7 separate regions of the Homo sapiens genome follow, and regions 2, 3, 4, 5, 6 and 7 are each linked to region 1. Evidence: promoter capture Hi-C in 16 types of primary human blood cells and fetal thymus (Javierre and others, 2016). All regions are on one chromosome and are shown on one strand. The core of a region is centred on a gene start or on the middle of the fragment in contact, and the rest is flanking DNA. Distances in the headings are between cores, read along the strand shown. Region 1 holds the start of UBLCP1 (ubiquitin like domain containing CTD phosphatase 1). Region 2 has its middle 2.8 kb from the start of CYFIP2. Region 3 overlaps CYFIP2 (cytoplasmic FMR1 interacting protein 2). Region 4 has its middle 30 kb from the start of ADAM19. Region 5 overlaps LSM11 (LSM11, U7 small nuclear RNA associated). Region 6 overlaps CLINT1 (clathrin interactor 1). Region 7 overlaps CLINT1 (clathrin interactor 1).

Evidence for each region. The method cuts DNA at HindIII sites, captures the fragments that hold promoters and counts their contacts. A CHiCAGO score of 5 or more calls a contact.
Region 2: a fragment that was not itself captured here is called in contact with the fragment with the promoter of UBLCP1 in region 1 in 1 of 17 cell types (fetal thymus); the score reaches 8.0 in fetal thymus.
Region 3: a contact is called between a fragment that was not itself captured here and the fragment with the promoter of UBLCP1 in region 1, in 2 of 17 cell types (naive CD8 T cells and naive CD4 T cells). The highest score is 6.1, in naive CD8 T cells.
Region 4: a contact is called between a fragment that was not itself captured here and the fragment with the promoter of UBLCP1 in region 1, in 1 of 17 cell types (activated CD4 T cells). The highest score is 5.3, in activated CD4 T cells.
Region 5: a contact is called between a fragment that was not itself captured here and the fragment with the promoter of UBLCP1 in region 1, in 5 of 17 cell types (fetal thymus, activated CD4 T cells, total CD8 T cells and 2 more). The highest score is 14.6, in fetal thymus.
Region 6: a contact is called between a fragment that was not itself captured here and the fragment with the promoter of UBLCP1 in region 1, in 7 of 17 cell types (fetal thymus, total B cells, erythroblasts and 4 more). The highest score is 8.8, in fetal thymus.
Region 7: a fragment that was not itself captured here is called in contact with the fragment with the promoter of UBLCP1 in region 1 in 1 of 17 cell types (fetal thymus); the score reaches 5.1 in fetal thymus.

Annotation. Positions count from the first base shown.
Region 1 is chr5:159,261,999-159,264,606 of GRCh38, forward strand. UBLCP1 (ubiquitin like domain containing CTD phosphatase 1) reads left to right here and starts at 1,292. Exons shown (of 11, transcript NM_145049.5): 1 at 1,292-1,362. RefSeq lists enhancers at 517-1,024, 859-928, 959-1,268, 1,025-1,532. The HindIII fragment of the contact is 1,074 bases long and covers 915-1,988 here.
Region 2 is chr5:157,262,063-157,264,670 of GRCh38, forward strand. No RefSeq gene overlaps it. Among named protein-coding and RNA genes, the nearest start is that of CYFIP2, 2.8 kb to the right of the region's middle. The HindIII fragment of the contact is 642 bases long and covers 1,009-1,650 here.
Region 3 is chr5:157,279,143-157,281,750 of GRCh38, forward strand. The region is part of intron 1 of CYFIP2 (cytoplasmic FMR1 interacting protein 2); the gene reads left to right. Among named protein-coding and RNA genes, the nearest start is that of CYFIP2, 14 kb to the left of the region's middle. The HindIII fragment of the contact is 2,222 bases long and covers 172-2,393 here.
Region 4 is chr5:157,604,004-157,606,611 of GRCh38, forward strand. No RefSeq gene overlaps it. Among named protein-coding and RNA genes, the nearest start is that of ADAM19, 30 kb to the left of the region's middle. The HindIII fragment of the contact is 2,938 bases long and covers 1-2,608 here.
Region 5 is chr5:157,745,485-157,748,092 of GRCh38, forward strand. The region is part of intron 1 of LSM11 (LSM11, U7 small nuclear RNA associated); the gene reads left to right. Among named protein-coding and RNA genes, the nearest start is that of LSM11, 3.1 kb to the left of the region's middle. The HindIII fragment of the contact is 899 bases long and covers 854-1,752 here.
Region 6 is chr5:157,820,493-157,823,100 of GRCh38, forward strand. The region is part of intron 1 of CLINT1 (clathrin interactor 1); the gene reads right to left. Among named protein-coding and RNA genes, the nearest start is that of CLINT1, 37 kb to the right of the region's middle. The HindIII fragment of the contact is 2,551 bases long and covers 36-2,586 here.
Region 7 is chr5:157,845,644-157,848,251 of GRCh38, forward strand. The region is part of intron 1 of CLINT1 (clathrin interactor 1); the gene reads right to left. Among named protein-coding and RNA genes, the nearest start is that of CLINT1, 12 kb to the right of the region's middle. The HindIII fragment of the contact is 1,535 bases long and covers 535-2,069 here.

The sequences.
Region 1 (2,608 bases), core at 42-2,541:
TTTGAAATACAAAATAAATTATTGATTACTATAGTCACCCTACTGTGCTGTGGAACGCTACAACTTATTCCTTCTGTCTAACCATATTTTCGCTCCTTTTAACTTCTCTTCATCTCCTTCTCCCTCCTTATCCTTCCCAGCCTCTGGTAACCACAATTTTACTCTCTATCTCCATGGAGTCAACTTTTTTTTAGCTCCCACATATGAGCACCAAACTTCAATGTAAGACCCAAAACTATGCAGCTATTCCAAGAAAACGATTTGAGAAAATGCTTGAAAATGTTGGTCTGGGCAATGATTTTTTTTTTTTTTTTAATTAAGACTTTCTGAAGAAAAGGGCATACTTTTCACTGAAAAAGTTTGAGTTTTTTAAATGAGCAGATACTCATGCATTACTAGTGCAGCCAAAAATTATCAAAAGTAGGGAAGAATGCAAAATAGCGTGTGCCTCTTAACTAAAGAACTGTTAAGATACAAAACTTGGCTCTTTGCTGCCTTTCCCGCACTGCCAAGAGGGAAACATGAATTAGTTACATTGCCGTGGTGCTCACTGGGAGTTCGCTGTATGGACCAGATGGGTACTGCTCCGAATTTCCATTCAAGTCTGACATTCTTTTGTCAGCGTTTGTGTAACCGGTTTTCCTTGCATTCAGAGGAAAGACAGCATGGAAGTATGGATGGGAAGGTTGAGACGATTGGATACTGTATGGTAACCTCGATCGCAGCTCTCCTATGAGACTTGCTTCTTGGATTCTGAGTCACTTAAGCTTGCCCCTTCTCTTTCCTGACCCTCTTCCGTTTCCCCTTAGATTGGAGATTCTCCTCAGATTCTAAGTCTCTGAAATTATTAGTGTTGGCAGCCCCTGGGCCCATGGAGGGGTCTCAAGTCTTCAGTTCTCAAAGATCACCTTTTAAGCTTCATTCGGAACATGACACAGCCACACGAGTCCTAGCCCTGAATCTCACGAAGACCTCAGTACACCTGGAAAAGGCAGCACACCCAGTTACGACACTACTAGAGACGTCACACGCCTCAGCACCCATCCGCTCCCAGCCCAGAACGAGCGCACGCGCAGAACGAGAGAGCGGCCACCCAGGGATCGGCGCTATCTGCACAGCGGTTACAGTCTCGGAAAGGCCTGGCTTCTTCGTGGCTTTGTGGAGATCCCTTACAGCGGCCATTTGATTAGCACCCGAAGAGATTCAAAGGAAGCAGTTGTTCCGTCCCCAACATATTTCCGTTTCAAACCACCCACTTCCGGTTTTTCAGCCGGTTCCGGTCCCGCCCTTCACTTCCGGTCGCTTTCGGTCTCTCAGCGGCCGGTTTCTGCGTCCGCTGCCGCAGGTTCCACCGCGCTCCAGGTGAGGGGTTGCGGGGCACCCTGGCGCGCTGCCCTTGGAGACGCTGTTGGGGCTCGGGGACAGTGGCTTTGCGGCCCGCGCGGCGTGGCTTGCACTGCGGCGGGCTGGGGATAGTGTCTGTCCTAGTCTGACGCCCAGGCCCCTAGCCCCGGCCCGCTTAGTCGCGGGGGCCGCTGTCCTCCCATCCAGCAGTCTAGCCTATTTGGAGGGCTTTCTGTTTCCCAGTGGGTTTTGCGTCCCCAAACTTCATTCCTCCGTCTTCTCAGGCTTGTCCATCCCTCCCCTCAACCTCCTTGTTGAAGGCATCCCGGCCTTTTTGGTTCTGGAGCCTCCACCTGCCTCCTAATGCTCCCCTAAGTCAGTTAGCACAGCCCCCGACCCTGCACCACCTCGCAGTTGTTGCTGGTGTGCGGTTCTCGCCGGAGTTCTTAGTGCTTCACGGTTATCTTTTGCTGGGATTGTTGAAAGTTAACCTCCCGTTAATTCCCAAAGTGTTACTTTTACTGCTATACTTTAAAATTTCTTCATTTGCCACTTTTTAGGTTTGTGGTCCCGGGCAAGTTTAATTTCTTTTCAGGATTCTCATTTGTATAATGAGGACAACAGCTGTTGGTTCAGGATTGTGAAGCTTCAATGAGATAATTGTTTAGCATGTTTTTATTCCATCATGAACACCATTTGTATTGTGTTTTACAGTTTACAAAGTGCTGTCACAGGTGTTACTTCATACCTTAACACTACTCCTGTCCAGTGAATATTAGTAGCCTCATCTTGTTGAGAAGACTGAGGCCAAGAGGTGGATTGACTAGGCAAAGTCAACACAGTATGTTAGGTAGAACTCCAACCTAAACAGCTATTCTTGACCCTAGGTTGACCATATGGAAGTGTATTCTTTGCTTGCTTGTTTGGGTTTGCCAACTTCACTCCTCCCCACACCCCAAATCATTTTTCAGCTTATAAATCTGATGGGATCTGAAATGATACAAAATACTAAGAAAGAAGGTTAAATGTGAAAGCAAAATAGCTCATGCATTTATATCACACTGCTTCATTGGTGTGAACGGTCTTAATGATGAAATAAGGTTCAGTAACTTTTAAACAAATCTTAAAGACATATGCATTTACAATTTTTATGGTGTTTGTTTCGCTTGGCCCTTTAAGGCATTTGCCAACTTGGAATTTCCACTTGTGGGATAGGTGCTTCGTAACGTTTTTATGCTGCTTTATTAACCATATAGAGCCCATG
Region 2 (2,608 bases), core at 80-2,579, 2.0 Mb before region 1:
TTTGCTCTGTTGCCCAGGCTGGAATGCAGCCGCACCATCTTTGCTCACTGCAACCTCCACCTCCTGGGCTCAAGCAATTCTCTTGCCTATAAAATGAGGCAATTTTGAGCAAGTGGTCAGGTTCTATCTACAGAATGGCCAATGTAAATTCTGTAACTGACCATCAAGTTTATCTTTTCCTGCCACCCACATAAATACTTAGAACCAAATGTGTTAGCAAGCTCATAGCAGGTAGAGCTGTGATTGATTTTTGTTTTGTTTACATTTTGGTCTTATGTACATTCGATTCTCCATCTCATCTCTCTACTCTTTTCCTTCTTTTTAAAAAATTTCTTGCTGATTTTTAATTTTTTAACATAATGTATTCCTGTAACTTACATTTAATATGTTTTTAGAATAAGGTAGCATATTAGTAAACAAATGGACTTAGCTTGGAAGAGGGAAAGTGAGGCTGTATGAGATTGTGGTAAAAAGCATGGGTTTGACTTCACTACCTTGGGCAAATTATTAAACCTTAATTGCCTCAATTATAAAAATGGGAAAAATGATTGTATTTTCCTTATAGAAAAATTACGAAAAATTAAATGAGGTAATGTACTTGGTAAATGTTAGCCATTATTATTATTATCATTATTTATGTTTTCCCTTCATGCCCATTCCAGATACTTCATTACTGGTGTCTATAAAGCAGGGTCTCCTGATAGTTTTAAAATACATATATATATATATATTTTTTTTTTTTTTGAGACAGAGTTTTGCTCTTGTTGCCCAGGCTGGAGTGCAACAGTGTGATCTCGGCTCACTACAACTTCCACCTCCCGGGTTCAAGCAATTCTGCCTCACCCTCCTGAGTAGCTGGGATTACAGGCGCTCGCCACCATGCCCAGCTAATTTTTTGTATTTTTAGTAGAAACTGGGTTTCACTATGTTGGCCAGGCTGGTCTCGAACTCCTGACCTCAGGCAATCCACCTGCCTCGGCCTCCCAAAGTGCTGGGATTATAACTTGAAGCTTTTCTAAAACACAAGGTAATGTTGCCACATGGACAACATGTGGGCCACAGCTTTGCAAGTACCAAAGCAATTCTTATTGATATCCTCTACCATTTCATTGCTGATGCACAGCTTGGGGTTGGATGTGAAGGAAATCTGAAGGCAGTAGACAGACAGCTATACATTTCAGTGGCAAAGTTTAAAAATGTCACCTATGGGTGTTCATTCCATCCATTTTTACTGAACTCCTGTTAAGTACCAGGCTCCAAGGATGCAATGGGAAAGCAAGACAGACATATCCCTGCTCCCTTAGATTTTATGGTCTCATGGTGGAATACAGGGAAGTGTGTTGACAATTATAATGCAGACTAATACGTGGGGTGATAGAGGGAGCCCAGGCAGCTAAGGACACATAGACAACTAATCTCAAGCTAACCCAGACATGTAGGAATCTTGGAGGAAGCGACATCTAGAGGAATACCAGGAAGATGAACAGAACTTCATCAGGTAAACTGGGAAAAAGTGTGGAATGTGGAGGGAGGGAATGGGGGGACAGAAACTGCCATTGAAGAAGCCTTGCATGTACGAATGTCGAGCACAACAGAGAACACAGCAAGTTTGAGGAACTAAAAGCTGTTCCTTTTAGCTGAAGCACAGCAAGCTTGTTCACATGGAGAGATAGCTGCCAGCTCTTAAAGACCCTCTCCGGCCACTGGAGAGTTTGGGCTTCATCGGGGGGCAGTGGGGAGCTAGGGAAGTGCCTTAAGCCTGGGAGGGACGTGCCCTTTAACTCATGTAATTTTCCACATTCAGAGGGAAGTTGGAGAGCATCCAACTTACTTCACTTAACAGGTGAGGAAACAGGGGTGAGGCTCCTTGCCTAAGATCATTCTTCTGTTAGTTGCAAAACTAGAACCAAAAGGCAAGCCTCTGGATTTCCAACACAGTGGCTTCAAAAGACCATACTGCTCTCCTTTATACACAAATAGAACTCAGAGGTCGGAGTTATTTTTGCCTAAGATCTAACCAAATATATATGTAATAGTCTTTTCTGTTTTTAGGCAACTTGTTCCTGAAGGTGAAAAGACAGGGAAGGAACAACAGGGAGAAATACGTCTTCCAAAAAACTATACCATCTGCAATAATATGCCCCTTAGAATGAAAATCTGATTTATTGGGATTCTCATTGTTAAGTATTTGTAATCACTGAACTTGAAATCCCAAGGATCACGGTGGAAAATGAAACATTTTTTAAAAAGGAAACCTCAGTTCTGTTTTTAAACCCATCCTCCACAAACACCCCCACAGCTTTTCACACTGAACCAGGGAAGAAATGTATGTGTGTGTATATATATATATATATAAGTCATTTTTTTCCGAAATAGCAATTTGAATTGGAATTAGCGATTTAAGATCAAACCACAAGGAATTATGGATTCTGAGCACGTGGGAAATAAGGTGAGATCAGTAAAGGAAAGCAAAGGCTTCCACAAGTCCTTTGCTGGAGCTTGAATAACGGGGCTCCTCCACAAATTGCCCTTATTAGGAACAGCTGAGTGATTAAGTATAAATTTGTGGGCCTTAGGAAACCACTCCTTATATCTACATACACTCCAC
Region 3 (2,608 bases), core at 33-2,532, 2.0 Mb before region 1:
TAAGTATTCTACATGCTGTAGTTATATAATCAAAATAAACATTGAGGACAGGCACTATTGTAAATTGTCACCCTTACAAGGTAAGGAAACTGAGGCTCGGAGAGGTTAAGGAACATGCTATTGTTTATATAGCTCATAAGTGGCAGATGACAGATTGAAACCCAGAACTCAAGCTTACCCACTACACTAGCCTAATATTTCACTTCAGTAAAAAGTCTTAATATTTCATTTCTTTCCAGAAAAATCAAACAGATAATGACAATGCAAGTATTTTGCTTACAGAGAAACAGGGTTTAAGCTGTAAATGTCAGAACCTGCATTTCCAAAGCCATGTTCTCCTGGCAGTCGCCCTGCATTTATGGGACCCACCCCCCTCTTGCTTGGGGTCTGTCAGTCATGTCTGCCTGGGGGGGCACCTAAAGCCCCCCCTTCTCAGAAGCAAATTGCTTGTGTGCCCAATGTTATTATTACTTTTGGTGAAACCAGGCCACCGACTGAGTTTGTTATGAAGACACTGCATTTAAACCCATCATGAATGCCCGCCACTGAGAATTTGCAGCTGTGTTTGGTAAATGATGCTCCCAGAACACTGTTAACTTTTAAATATTTTATTAATTTCTTTTTCAAAATGATGAAATGGTCACATGTTCGTAGACCGAATATAAAGAATCATTCTCACTTGGAAGATTGCGTAACAGGCAGGACACTTGGGCAGGAAAGAAGTACGTTCTTATTTTCATTTATACCTCTGTTCAAATTTCCAGAATATTTTTCCTTTCTGATTGATGTGGATTTGGCAGTGCCTACCAGCACTTGAGCTAAAAATGTCGGATTTCCTTCTCCCTTAGGCACTGAATGATCTACCAATGCTCATAGAAATCCACTACAGAAGTTGTATTTGCCAGGGGAGAAGAAAGATAGCATTAACATAAACAGACTCCTAATTTATTTGCTTTGTAGGTTGTTCACTTACTTATTGATTCTCTTCAAGGGATGTTCAGGGGTACTATTATGCTACAGAGGAGAACTTAATGGTTATTCTGGTAAATGAGTATTTTTGTGTGTGTGTGTGTGATGAAGTTTTGCCCTTGTTGCCCAGGCTGGAGTGCAATGGCATGATCTTGGCTCACTGCAACCTCTGCCTCCTGGGTTCAAGTGATTTTCCTGCCTCAGTCTCCTGAGTAGCTGGGATTACAGGCACCCACCACCACGCCTGGCTAATTTTTTTTTTTTTTTTGTATTTTTAGTAGAAATGGGATTTCTACTAAAGAAAAATTGACCAGGCTGGTCAGGCTGGTCTCGAACTCCTGACCTCAGGTGATCCACCCGTCTCAGCCTCCCAAAGTGCTGGGATTACAGGCGTGAGCCACCACACCCGTCTGTAAATGAGTATTTTTTAAGTTTGAGTAGCCCAGAAGAAACCTAGTTACAGGAGAAAAAAAGGGAAGTTGGATAAGAGCTGGGAGCTTATAAACTGATCTAGGGGATTTTATGAAAAATTTGAAACATATATAAAATTGGATGGAAAAATACAGTAATTTCTATGTATGTGTCACACACAATCTATAGTTACTAACTCACTGCGAATTTGTTTCATTTCTATTCACTCTTCCCCCATCTAGTATTATTTAGAAGCAAAACCCTGTGTCCTTTTATCTATATTTTAGTAGATCTTTCTGGAAGATATAGGTTCTTTTAAAACATAACCTTGATATTATCAAACCTAAATACAATATTTCCTTCATATTATCAAATATCCAGTCAGTACTAATTTTCTAATTTTCTCATAAAGTTATAATTTTATTTGTATGGTGGTTTGTTTGAAATAGGATCCAAATAAGGTCCACACATGATAGTGTGTTCAGTCTCTTCAAAATCTATAGACTTTCCTCCCATCTCTCTTTTCTATCTTTGCAATTTATTTGTTAGAGGTCCTGAGTCATTTGTCCAGCAGAATTTGTCATAGATTGCATTTTGCTGATTACATCACTGGGGTGTAGCATGTTTTTCTGCCCTCTTATATTTCCTGTGAGTTGGCGTCAAAGGCTTAATTAGATTCAGGTGTTTTGTTTTGGATCCAGCATTCTTGGTGCGTTTTTCCATCATTAAGCACATAATATCTGATTGTCTTTCATTTAGGGATGTTAACAGCTGATGATGATCCGTGCCTAGATCCATTTGTTTGTAGAGGTTGGAAAACAAGGATATTATCATTTTTCTGTTAAAAAGGAAAAAAATACTTTTATGGAAAGAAACATCCATCTCTTCTATAGTTCGGTTATCTAGTGGTATAGTTTAAGAAAGACAGGTTAAATGTTTGCTTTTATTTACCAATTCTCAACATAAAGGTTGGTTCACAGGCTCATCTAACAGTAACAAAGTAATAAAAACCAAGCTTTTATTAGATGTCTTTGTGATCCATCAGGGCTCTTCCAGCACATCACTCGATTTTAAAATCACTTGGAATAATAGTCCCTTTCTGTGGAGTTACTCCAATAGTACAACATATATATACATTCATTTGTTTCATTTTACTTTTCGATTTGGGGGCCACTTTTTATAAATTTAAATTTTATTTTATAAGTATGTAAAATGTTTTGACGTTTTC
Region 4 (2,608 bases), core at 76-2,575, 1.7 Mb before region 1:
GGCTTCCTCCCAATGTCAATATTCCTGCAAGGTTTAAGGATTGGGATCCCATTTGAAGAAGCACTTGTCGGAAGAAATAATGATGTTCTGTCTTTTTCAAAGAGTCGGAAACCTTTGTGATGAACAAAGTCATAATTAAAGACCTTTAGTTCAGGATTGCACTAACAGTTTGATAGTTACGGATGACTGAGGAGAAATTTCCAATACCAATTATATGGAGCCTCTTTCTTTCTTTCTTTCTTTCTTTCTTTCTTTCTTTCTTTCTTTCTTTCTTTCTTCTTTTTTTTTTTTGAGACGGAATTTCACTTTTGTTGCCCAGGCTGGAGTGCAGTGGGGCGATCTCGGCTCACTGCAACCTCTGTCTCCTGGGTTCAAGCGATTCTCCTGCCTCAGCCTCCCGGGTAGCTGGAATTATAGGCATCTGCCACCAGGCCTGGCTAATTTTTTGTATTTTTAGTAGGGACGGGGTTTCACCATGTTGGCCAGGCTGGTCAAGAGCTCCTGACCTGAGGTGATCCACCTGCCTCGGCCTCCCAAAAGTGCTGAGATTACAGGCGTGAGGCCTACATGGATCCCTTTTCATTCAACAGACAAGCAGACAATTAAGATAATATTCTAAAAAGGCCTTAGAGTTCCAGATTAAGGAACCTTGGGACCAGGCTGACTTAGGCTAAATTCCACTCTCTCCCCCATGTCACAGGTAAGATCCATGCCTTGGAAGTTAGGTAGTTTTTGCCTTGAACATCTTCAGTAATCAGCTTGAATTTTCTAAATGCAACTTCATCATTCTGCAAATCAGCAAGACTCACTTCAAACACACGACCCTTCAGACTACCAGGTGCAATTTTGGTTCCCTGGGTCCTGGTGACCAGTGTCTTTCCAGTATTTCTTCTACTGAACATAGCATGCTTTCACATCGTACCAATCTTTCTTAGAAAATGGATCAACCAGCCAGGGGTGGTGGCTCACACCTGTAATCCTAGCACTTTGGGAGGCCGAGGCAGGTGGATCACCTGAGGTCAGGAGTTCAAGACCAGCCTGGCCAAGATGGTGAAACCCCGTCTCTACTAAAAATAGAAAAATTAGACTGGGCGCAGTGACTTAAGCCTGTAATCCCAGCATTTTGGGAGGCCATGGCGGGTGAATCACCTGAGGTCAGGAATTTGAGACCAGGCTGGCCAACATGGTGAAACCCCCGTCTCTACTAAAGATACAAAAACTTAGCCGTGTGTGGTGGCACACGCCTGTAATCCCAGCTACTTGGGAGGCAGAGGCAGGATAATTGCTTGAACCTGGGAGGCAGAGGTTGCAGTGAGCCGAGATCGTGCCATTGCACTCTAGCCTGAGCAACAGAGTGAGACGCTATCTCAAAAAAAAAAAAAAAAAAAATTAGCCAGGCATGGTAGCAGGCACCTGTAATCCCAGCTACTCAGGAGGCTGAGGCATGAGAATTGCTTGAACTCGGGAGGCGGAGGTTGCAGTGAGCTGAGATCACACCATTGTATTCCAGCCAGGGGGATAGAGCAAGACTGTCTCAAAAAAAAGAAAAAAGAAAAAAAGAAAATGGATCAGCCACTTCTTGGCTCCCTTTTTGCTGTCTTTCGTAAGGTACTTGTTCTTGCCAACCACCATGTTGCTGCTCAGAATGATCTTTTCAATAAACGGTACTGAAAGAACTGGACAGCCATATGAAAAAAATGAACTTCGACCTTTAGCTCACATCATACACAAAAATTAATTTGAAATAAATAATAGAGACAAAAGTTGTGAACATAAATACATTCAAAAGCTGTTGGAACCCCCAAAGCACTTTTTTTTTCTGGCAAAGTCCCACCTCAGCCTCCGAGTAGCTGGGACTATAGGTGCGCACCACCACACCTGGCTAATTTTTGTATTTTTTTGTAGAGACAGGGTTTCGCCATGTTGCCCAGGCTGGTCTTGAGTTCCTGAGCACAAGCAATCAGCCCACCTTGGCTTTCCAGCATGCTGGGATTATAGGTATGTGCCACCACACCTGGCTTCCAAAAAGACTTTAAACCTTGAGAGAGAACTGGTGATCTGAGTCACTTAGCATGTAGTTGCAACTTCTGCTTCTTAGATTATAGATCAACTCTCTTTTCTCATTGTTCTTGTGCTATAAATGACTGGGAGAGACCAGAGACCAGATGTCCTCCCCTTCTAATCACTGACCTTTGTTATAGATTGTCTCCTGCATTATTCTGTACCTAACTCAAACCAGATGGCGCAAAAGACCTCATGACTGTTTCATCTTCAGTATGGAATGTTCAGTATATCTTTCCTGAAAGAAAAAGATGACCTTCACCAATCAGACCATTGTAATTATGCATTAAGCCTTACATAAGGCCGGGCATGGTGGCTCACAGCAGGAATCCTAGCACTTTGGGAAACCAAGGTGGGATAATCACTGGAGCCCAGGAGTTTAAGGCCAGCCTGGGCAACACGGCGAAGCCCTGTGTCTATAAAAAATTGACTGGGTATGATGGCACACACCTGCAGTCCCAGCTACTCAGCAGACTGAGGTGGGAGGATCACCTGATCTCAGGAGGTCGAGCCTGTAGTGAACGCTGATGGTGCCACTGCATTCCAG
Region 5 (2,608 bases), core at 53-2,552, 1.5 Mb before region 1:
GGGGACCTTAATTTGCCTATGCAATTTGCCACCATTAGGTAGTTGAAATGCACTCCAAGTCTCATTGCAACATTTATTTCTATTTTACCAGTTATTGCTTTGCTACCAAGATTGTCAAGGGAAAGGAATATTCCTGTGTATTGCTATGTGGTGGGTGGTTTTAGCTTTCCCTATAGAGCACTTTACTGTAATGGTATGACAGTGTGTGAAGACCAGCTTTGTCAACTTCTTATGATTAAGTATATATCCCTGGAATCAAGATCTCAGAGAATATGCCCTACATACTGAAAATTTTCACCATGGCACTGCAGACAGTTGAGTGTACATGAGAGAAAGGCATTGACGTCGCACAGAGTTGATGACCTTCAGAAAGCAAGAAAACAACAGAAACATGGGTGAGGATTGGATTCATTCAAGAAAGAGTTCCTACTTGAGGGTGAAGGGTGGGAGGAGGGTGAGAATCACAAAACTACCTATTGGGTACTGTGATCACTACCTGGGTGACAAAATAATTTGTGCACCAAACCCCAGTGACACACGATTTACACCTGCAACAAACCTTTCGTGTACCTCCTGATCCAAAAACAAAAGTTGGAAGGGGGGAAAAAAAAGAACTAGGTATGTTTTATATGTATGCCACAGTTTTAATTTAAAAAAATATATGCCTACTCTAAACTCTGATTGGATACAGTTGCTCAGGAAAATCAAAATATAGATACCAGTAAGATAATACTATTTGTGGACATATACAAATGCTTTCTGGAAAAAAATGCCTATGCATTTGAGAATGCATAATCCTTTGCAAAATATTCACATAAAATGTAAGTTCCATCAGGCTGTAACAGCAAGAAGAAGCTTTGTTAGGTCATATCATCAGTGAAACATAATGAAGAATACATGAGGAGCTACATTTTGTCGCTGACTTTAAAATGATGTATTTCATCAATTCAGATCCAAGTTACCCATCCAAATTCACAGAGAGGACAGTGTGGAATGTTTATGAAAAAACAAGGAGTGCAAAATTAAGTGTAATGGTGTTTTAACTGTAAAATATTTCACTTTGTATCTCTGTCATAGAATCTCTTTGAATTCCCTTGTGGAGCAGTTGTATTCTTTTCCTTGCAGTAATAAAATTTTAAAAGTAGCCAGGCACAGTGGCTCACACCTGTAATCCCAGCACTTTGGGAGGCCGAGGCGGGCAGAACACTTGAGGCCAGGAGTTCAAGACCAGCCTGGCCAACGTGGTGAAACCCTGTCTCTACTAAAAATACAAAAATTAGTTGGGCATGGCAGCATCTGCCTCTAGTTCCAGCTGTTCAGGAGGATGAGGCACGAGAATCGCTTGAACCCTGTAAGTGGAAGCTGCAGTGAGCCGAGATCATAGGGACATCATAGAGACCTCTACAGAGGTGATACGAGGTCTCAAAAAAAAGTAATAATAAAAGTATAGGAGGCTGTTGCAATACTGGGAATACTAAAGAAGAAAAAAAGCATAGGAGGAAAGGTTTTTCGTCATCATTAAGCCTAAGCCATCACTGATACCAACAAAGAACTCACACACAAGCTGTACTTGCAAGTGGAATGCAATTGCTTTTCCTCCTTTTTAATATTGACATGCCTATAGAGATGGTAAGACAAGACTAAAGAGCATTATCCTCTTTTCCACATAATTCTAGTGTCTATATTTCTCCTTAGTATCGCAGCACCATACCTAGCCCACGGTGGTTCTGGTTTATAATTGTGCTTCAAGCAAGCTTTTTCTAGGTATATCTGTCACTGTGAAATGAACTGGTGTGTTCAAGCTCACGTCTTGACATTATAAAGCTGTAAGAAAAAGTGTTATCATTACTTTGTTTTAGCTACAGGTGTGTTGGTGTGCAGCCTGTGCCGGTGTGAACAAGTGTGTGTGGTCAATCCAAAATGCATATGACATGCAGGGTTTGGCTCCTAGACCATTGTCTAGGTGAATGGCTTGTCTCCAGTTCCAAATTCAGTTTTCCTGCAGGGAGCCTACACAGTCCTTTTACTCGCACACATCCTGCTGAGAAGGATTTCAAAACAAACCTGATTTATTGGGCCTCTGACGTGATACCATGATTGAAAATTTGTTTGAGTCCTGTTGTTGTAGTTTACTTTGATTGCTGAAATAATTTCCCACAATATGGTGTCTTGATGTTTTCATTTTAATAAAGTGATATTCTTTGGATAACTTTGACTTCACTTCCTGCAAATAAAGAGCAAGAAAATAGGCAAAATCAAGAACATCTGAGCCCTGTGTACAGCAGTAAAATGAACTCTCAAATTTGAACAGCATCTCTGTTACACAGAGGTTGCCAAAAGGGCATGAGTATGACTTACATAAAACCGAGAACAGCGGTACTTAGGCTTCAGAAAAGGCCAAGCTTAAAATTCAGCCTTGTCACTTTTCTCAGCTCATTGCAGCTGTTTCCAGTCAGCTGTCTCCAGTGCAACTAAGGAATAGTCTCAGATGATTTCTGCACCACACTGCTGTGTGTGTGTGTGTGTGTGTGTGTGTGTGTGTGTTTAGGCCAGTTTGACATAGCATCACAATAGGGAAGACACTGATGTGCCTTTGCCGGGTCACTGA
Region 6 (2,608 bases), core at 61-2,560, 1.4 Mb before region 1:
TGATGGCATAAAGAATTCCAAGACAAAGTATTTTAAGCTTCAACTAATTCAGAAACAAATGTAAACTAAAAACAACACTGTATGGTTTGGCCTTATTCCAGGTCATTTAAAAATAACTATTTCTAAAAAGGTAGAAATGGCATTTTAATCCTTCCTTTCTCATGTTTTCTACTGCCCTCAATCTATGCCCTACCCATAATTCCAGTGACCTTTTTTAAAAAAGAAAACAATCCCTCCGTGTTAAAAATAAAAATAAAAATTATGTCCAGATTTGAAAGGAAAAAAATGGCTAGTTTAATTCTGAAAACTTCTGACACAAATGTTTTAAGAATATATCACAGACGCTAGAGGGGGCACTCTCAACGGTTTCTTAAACACACACACAACAATCCAGACAAAGGTCTAGAATTTGATCTGCAAACAAAATTACAGAAAAAGACACCGCCCCTCCCCAATAAATTTCATACCATTTAAACTAACACTACAGTCAAACAAGTGACTTACGGACTTTCACCAATCCTAAATTGAGATTCCTAACTTGAAATTTTAAAAAATTATCTCTTTACACTTAGTTGTTGTTTTTTTTAAAGTACCGGCAACCATTATTATGACCTTCTGTTGAAGGCTCAAAGTCTTTGGATACAGGCTTTTCTACTTACATTTCCTTTCATGTAATTATCATTATAACACTTAAAGGTAACCAAGAATACTTTGATAACACCAAAAAAATTTTCTGTATATTATTTTAAACCAGTCTGACAGTAATACCAAAAGAAAACTTGACCCACAAAATATCTAATGATTTTTAACATTTCTGCTGTCACCATCAATAACTACCTTTTATTTCCAGATTTTTATCTGTATTTAATTTCTGCAAACATAAACAGACATGAGATGTAATAATGGAGGGAAAGTAAAAGAAGAAAAATAACTTTAAGAAATGCTGCTGTTTCACAAGAGAACATAAACCAGGAAAAAAAATGTTGCTGTAATTTTTACATTTCTTCACTAGTTTAAATAGTATCTGTAATTTTCAGAACAATCTAATAGTCACCAGAAAGTACAAAATGAGCCCTTCTCACATGTGTTCTATCTAGGCTTACTCAACATATTAACTTTCTCTTTGCTTAAAACAAGAGTCTTGAAAATGAGTGACTTGAAGAGTAGGTTTCTCTGTCCTGATAAAGATAGGTAATTACTAGGATCACACTGTTTAAATGTAACAGTTACAACTACTGGGTAGTTCAGCAGTATAACTGGCTAACAATACCAAATCTTAACGGACTCTAATATTAGGCCAAAAAGAAAGTTAAGAGAGGGAATGAAAGATGGAAGGAATCACCAAAGAATGAAGAATACAAGAATAAAATCCATAGACACAATCATTATTGTTTATGAAACTGTTTGTTGTTTCCAAAGTGCTTTTACTCATTTTCACATTTGCTTCTCAGAACACTCCAGCAACTTCACTCTGCACAACTCAGCAACACTGACTCACTAGATCTTTAGTGCCAACTGCGAGAAGTTACCATCCTCAAGTTTTGCACACATGCTTTGATATGGTTTGGCTGTGTCCCCACCCAAATCTCATCTTGAATTGTACTCTCATAATTCCCACGTGTTGTGGGAGGGACCTGTTGGGAGATAATTTGAATCATGAGGGCGGTTTCCCTCATACTGTTCTAGTGGTAGTGAGTAAGTCTCACAAGATTTGATGGTCTTTTTTTTTTTTTTATACTTTAAGTTCTAGGGTACATGTGCACAACGTGCAGGTGTATACATGTGCCATGTTTGTATGCTGCAACCGTTAACTCGTCATTTACATGAGGCATATGTAATGCTATCCCTCCCAAGATCTCATGGTCTTATCAGGGGTTTCTGCTTTTGCCTCTTCCTCATTTTCCCTTGCTGCTGCCATGTAAAAAGTGCCTTTCACCTCCCGCCATGATTCTGGGGCCTCCCCAGCCATGTGGAACTGTGTCCAATTAAACCTCTTTTTCTTCCCAGTCTTGGGTATGCCTTTATCAGCAGCATGAAAATGGACTAACACATGCTTCTAGAGCTATGTAAACACAGCCAGTATTCAGTTAGTCAAGGGTCAACTATTCAGTTTGTAAATTATTAGTGTTCATCGTAGCCCTCCTCTTTATTCTCCATTTTCTGCTTATTTGACTACTTGACATTCAGATAATATCAAATTATTTTACTTGGTAAGTTTCAGTCCAGTTTTTAGAGGTAGAATTGATTAAAAGCTAAAATGAGGCTTTTACTTACAGGCAGTCAATACTTCTTATCTACATTAAGAATCATCAGTAAAATAATTAACAAGAAAAAACTTGAGCAGTCCTTGTTGGTATTTTTTCCTCTTAAAAGTTCAAGAATATGCTTTGCTAAAACAAAACTATACACCAAGAGAAAAGGTAAAGTATAGGTATAATGTGGTACTAACTGCTAACAAAGGAATAAGGAGTAAAGTGAAACAGATTGAGAAGTATTTTTCCCAGTTTGCCTTTTAAATTTTATTCCTTTAAAAAAAAACTGAAGTCAAATGAATCTATATTTTTTATATGGTTTCTCTTTGTTTTAAGCTTATTGTCAAGATTTCACT
Region 7 (2,608 bases), core at 52-2,551, 1.4 Mb before region 1:
CGGGTTCACGCCATTCTCCTGCCTCAGCCTCCCAAGTAGCTGGGACCACAGGTGCCTGCCACCACGCCCGGCTAATTTTTTTTTGTATTTTTAGTAGAGACGGGGTTTCACCGTGTTAGCCAGGATGGTCTCGATCTCCTGACCTCGTGATCCGCCTGCCTCCACCTCCCAAAGTGCTGGGATTACAGGCGTAAGCCACCATGCCCGGCCGCATTTTAGTAATTCTTACAATATTTCCAACTTTTTCATTATTCTTTCTGTTATAGCAGTCTGTGATCAGTGATCTTTGATGTTACTATTGTAATTGTTTGGGGATAGCATGAACCACGCTGCTAATTGATAGTAAGTTGAATGTGTCCTGACTGCTCCACTGACTGCCCATTCCTGCCGCTCTCCCTCTCCTCTGGCATCTCTATTCCCTTAGACACAATATTGACATTAGGTCAATTAATAACCCTACAATGACCTCTAAGTGTTCAAGTGAAAGGAAGAGCTGCACATCTCCTACTTTCAATCAAAAGCTAGAAATGATTAAGCTTAGGAAGGTATGTTGAAAGCTGAGACAGGCTAAAAGCTATGCCTCTTGTGCCAAAAAGTTAGGTTGTGAATGCAAAGGAAATGTTCTTGAAGGAAATTTAAAGTGCTAGTCTAGTGAACACAACAATGATAAGTGAAACAGAGCTTCACTGCTGATATGGAGAAAGTTTGAGTGGTTTGAATAGAATATCAAACTAGCCACAACATTCCCTTAAGCCAAAGCCTAATCCAGAGCAAGGCCCTAACTCTATACAGTTCTATGAAGGCTGAGAGAGGTGAGGAAGCTGCAAAAGAGAAGCTGAAGCTAGCAGAAGTTTATGAGGTTTAAGAAAAGAAGCCGCCTCCATAAGAGAAAAATTTAAGGTGAAACAGTAAGTGCTGATGTAGAAGCTATGGCAAATTATCCAGAAGGTCTAGCTAAGATCATCTAATGAAAGTGGTTACACTAAACAGATTTTCAATGGAGATGAAACGGCCTTCCAGTGGAAGATGCCATCTAGGACTTTCATAGCTAGAGAGGTCAGTGCCTGGCTTCAAAGCCTCAAAGGACAGGCTGAATCTCTTCTCATGGGCTAACGCAGCTGTGAGCCAGTGCTCACTGCACATTATGAAAATCCTGGGGCCCTTAAGAATTATGCTAAATCTACTCTGCTTGTGCTATAGAAATAGAACAACAAAGCCTAAATGATGGCGCATCTGTTTACAGCATAGTTTACTGATTATTTTAAGCCCACTGTTGAGATCTACTGCTCAGAAGAAAAGATTCTTTTCAAAATATTATTTCACATGGACAAGGAGTCACCAAGGAGCTCTGATGGAGACGTACAAAGAGATGAGTGTTTTCATGTCTGCTAACACAATGTTCGTTTTGTAGCCCATGGATCAAGAAGTCATTTAGACTTTCAAGTCTTATTATTTAAGAAAATACATTCCATAAGGCTGTAACTGCCTAGCTAGTGATTCCTCTGATGGATCTGGGAAAAGTAAATTGAAAACCTTCTGGAAAGAATTCACCATACTAGTTTTGCCATTAAGAATATTAGTGGCTGGGCACAGCTCACACCTGTAATCCTAGCACTTTGGGAGGCCAAGGCAGGAGGACTGCTTAAACTCAGGAGTTCAAGGCTAGCCTCAGCAACATAGCGAAACCTCATCTCTACAGAAAACTTAAAAATTAAAAATTAGCCAGGCGTGGTGGTGGGCGCCTGTAGTCCCAGCTACTTGGGAGGCTGAGGCAGGAGAATGGCGTGAACCCAGGAGGCAGAGCTTGCAGTGAGCCGAGATCGTGCCACTACACTCCAGCCTGGGCGACAGAGCAAGACTCCGTCTCAAAAAAAAAAAAAATTGTGATTCATGGTAAAAATATCAACATTTACAGGAGTCTGGAAGTTGATTCCAAACCTCATGGATCACTTTGAGGGGTTCAAGACTTCAGTGACGGACGTCACTGCAGATGTGGTGAGAACAGCAAGAAAACTAGAATTAGGAGCGGAGCCTGAAGATGTGACTGAATTGCTGTAATCTCATGATAAAGCTTGAATGATGAGTTGCTTCTTCTAGATGAGCAAAATAAGTGGTTTCTTGAGATGGACTCTACTGCCAGTGAAGAACATGGTTAAAATGACAACAAAGATTTTTCTTGTTTTTCTTGAGACGATGTCTCCCTCCATTGCCCAGGCCGGAGTACAGTGGCACCATCACTGTTCACTGCAGCCTTGACCTCCTGAGCTCAAGTAATCCTCCTACCTCAGCCTCTTGAGTAGCTGAGACTACTTGCCACCACACCTGACTAATTTTTGTATTTTTAGCAGAGATGAGGTTTCACCATATTGCTCAGGTTGGTCTTCAACTCCTGGGCTCAAGTGATCCACGTGCCTTGAACTCCCAAAGTACTGGGATACAGGTGTGAGCCACTGCACCTGGCCAAAAAAAATTTTTTTTTGAGATGGAGTCTCGCTCTGTCGCCCAGGCTGGAGTGGCACTATCTTGGCTCACTGAAACCTCCACTTTCCAGATTCAAGCAATTCTGCCTCAGCCTCCCAAGTAGCTGGGACTACAGGGGCCCGCCACT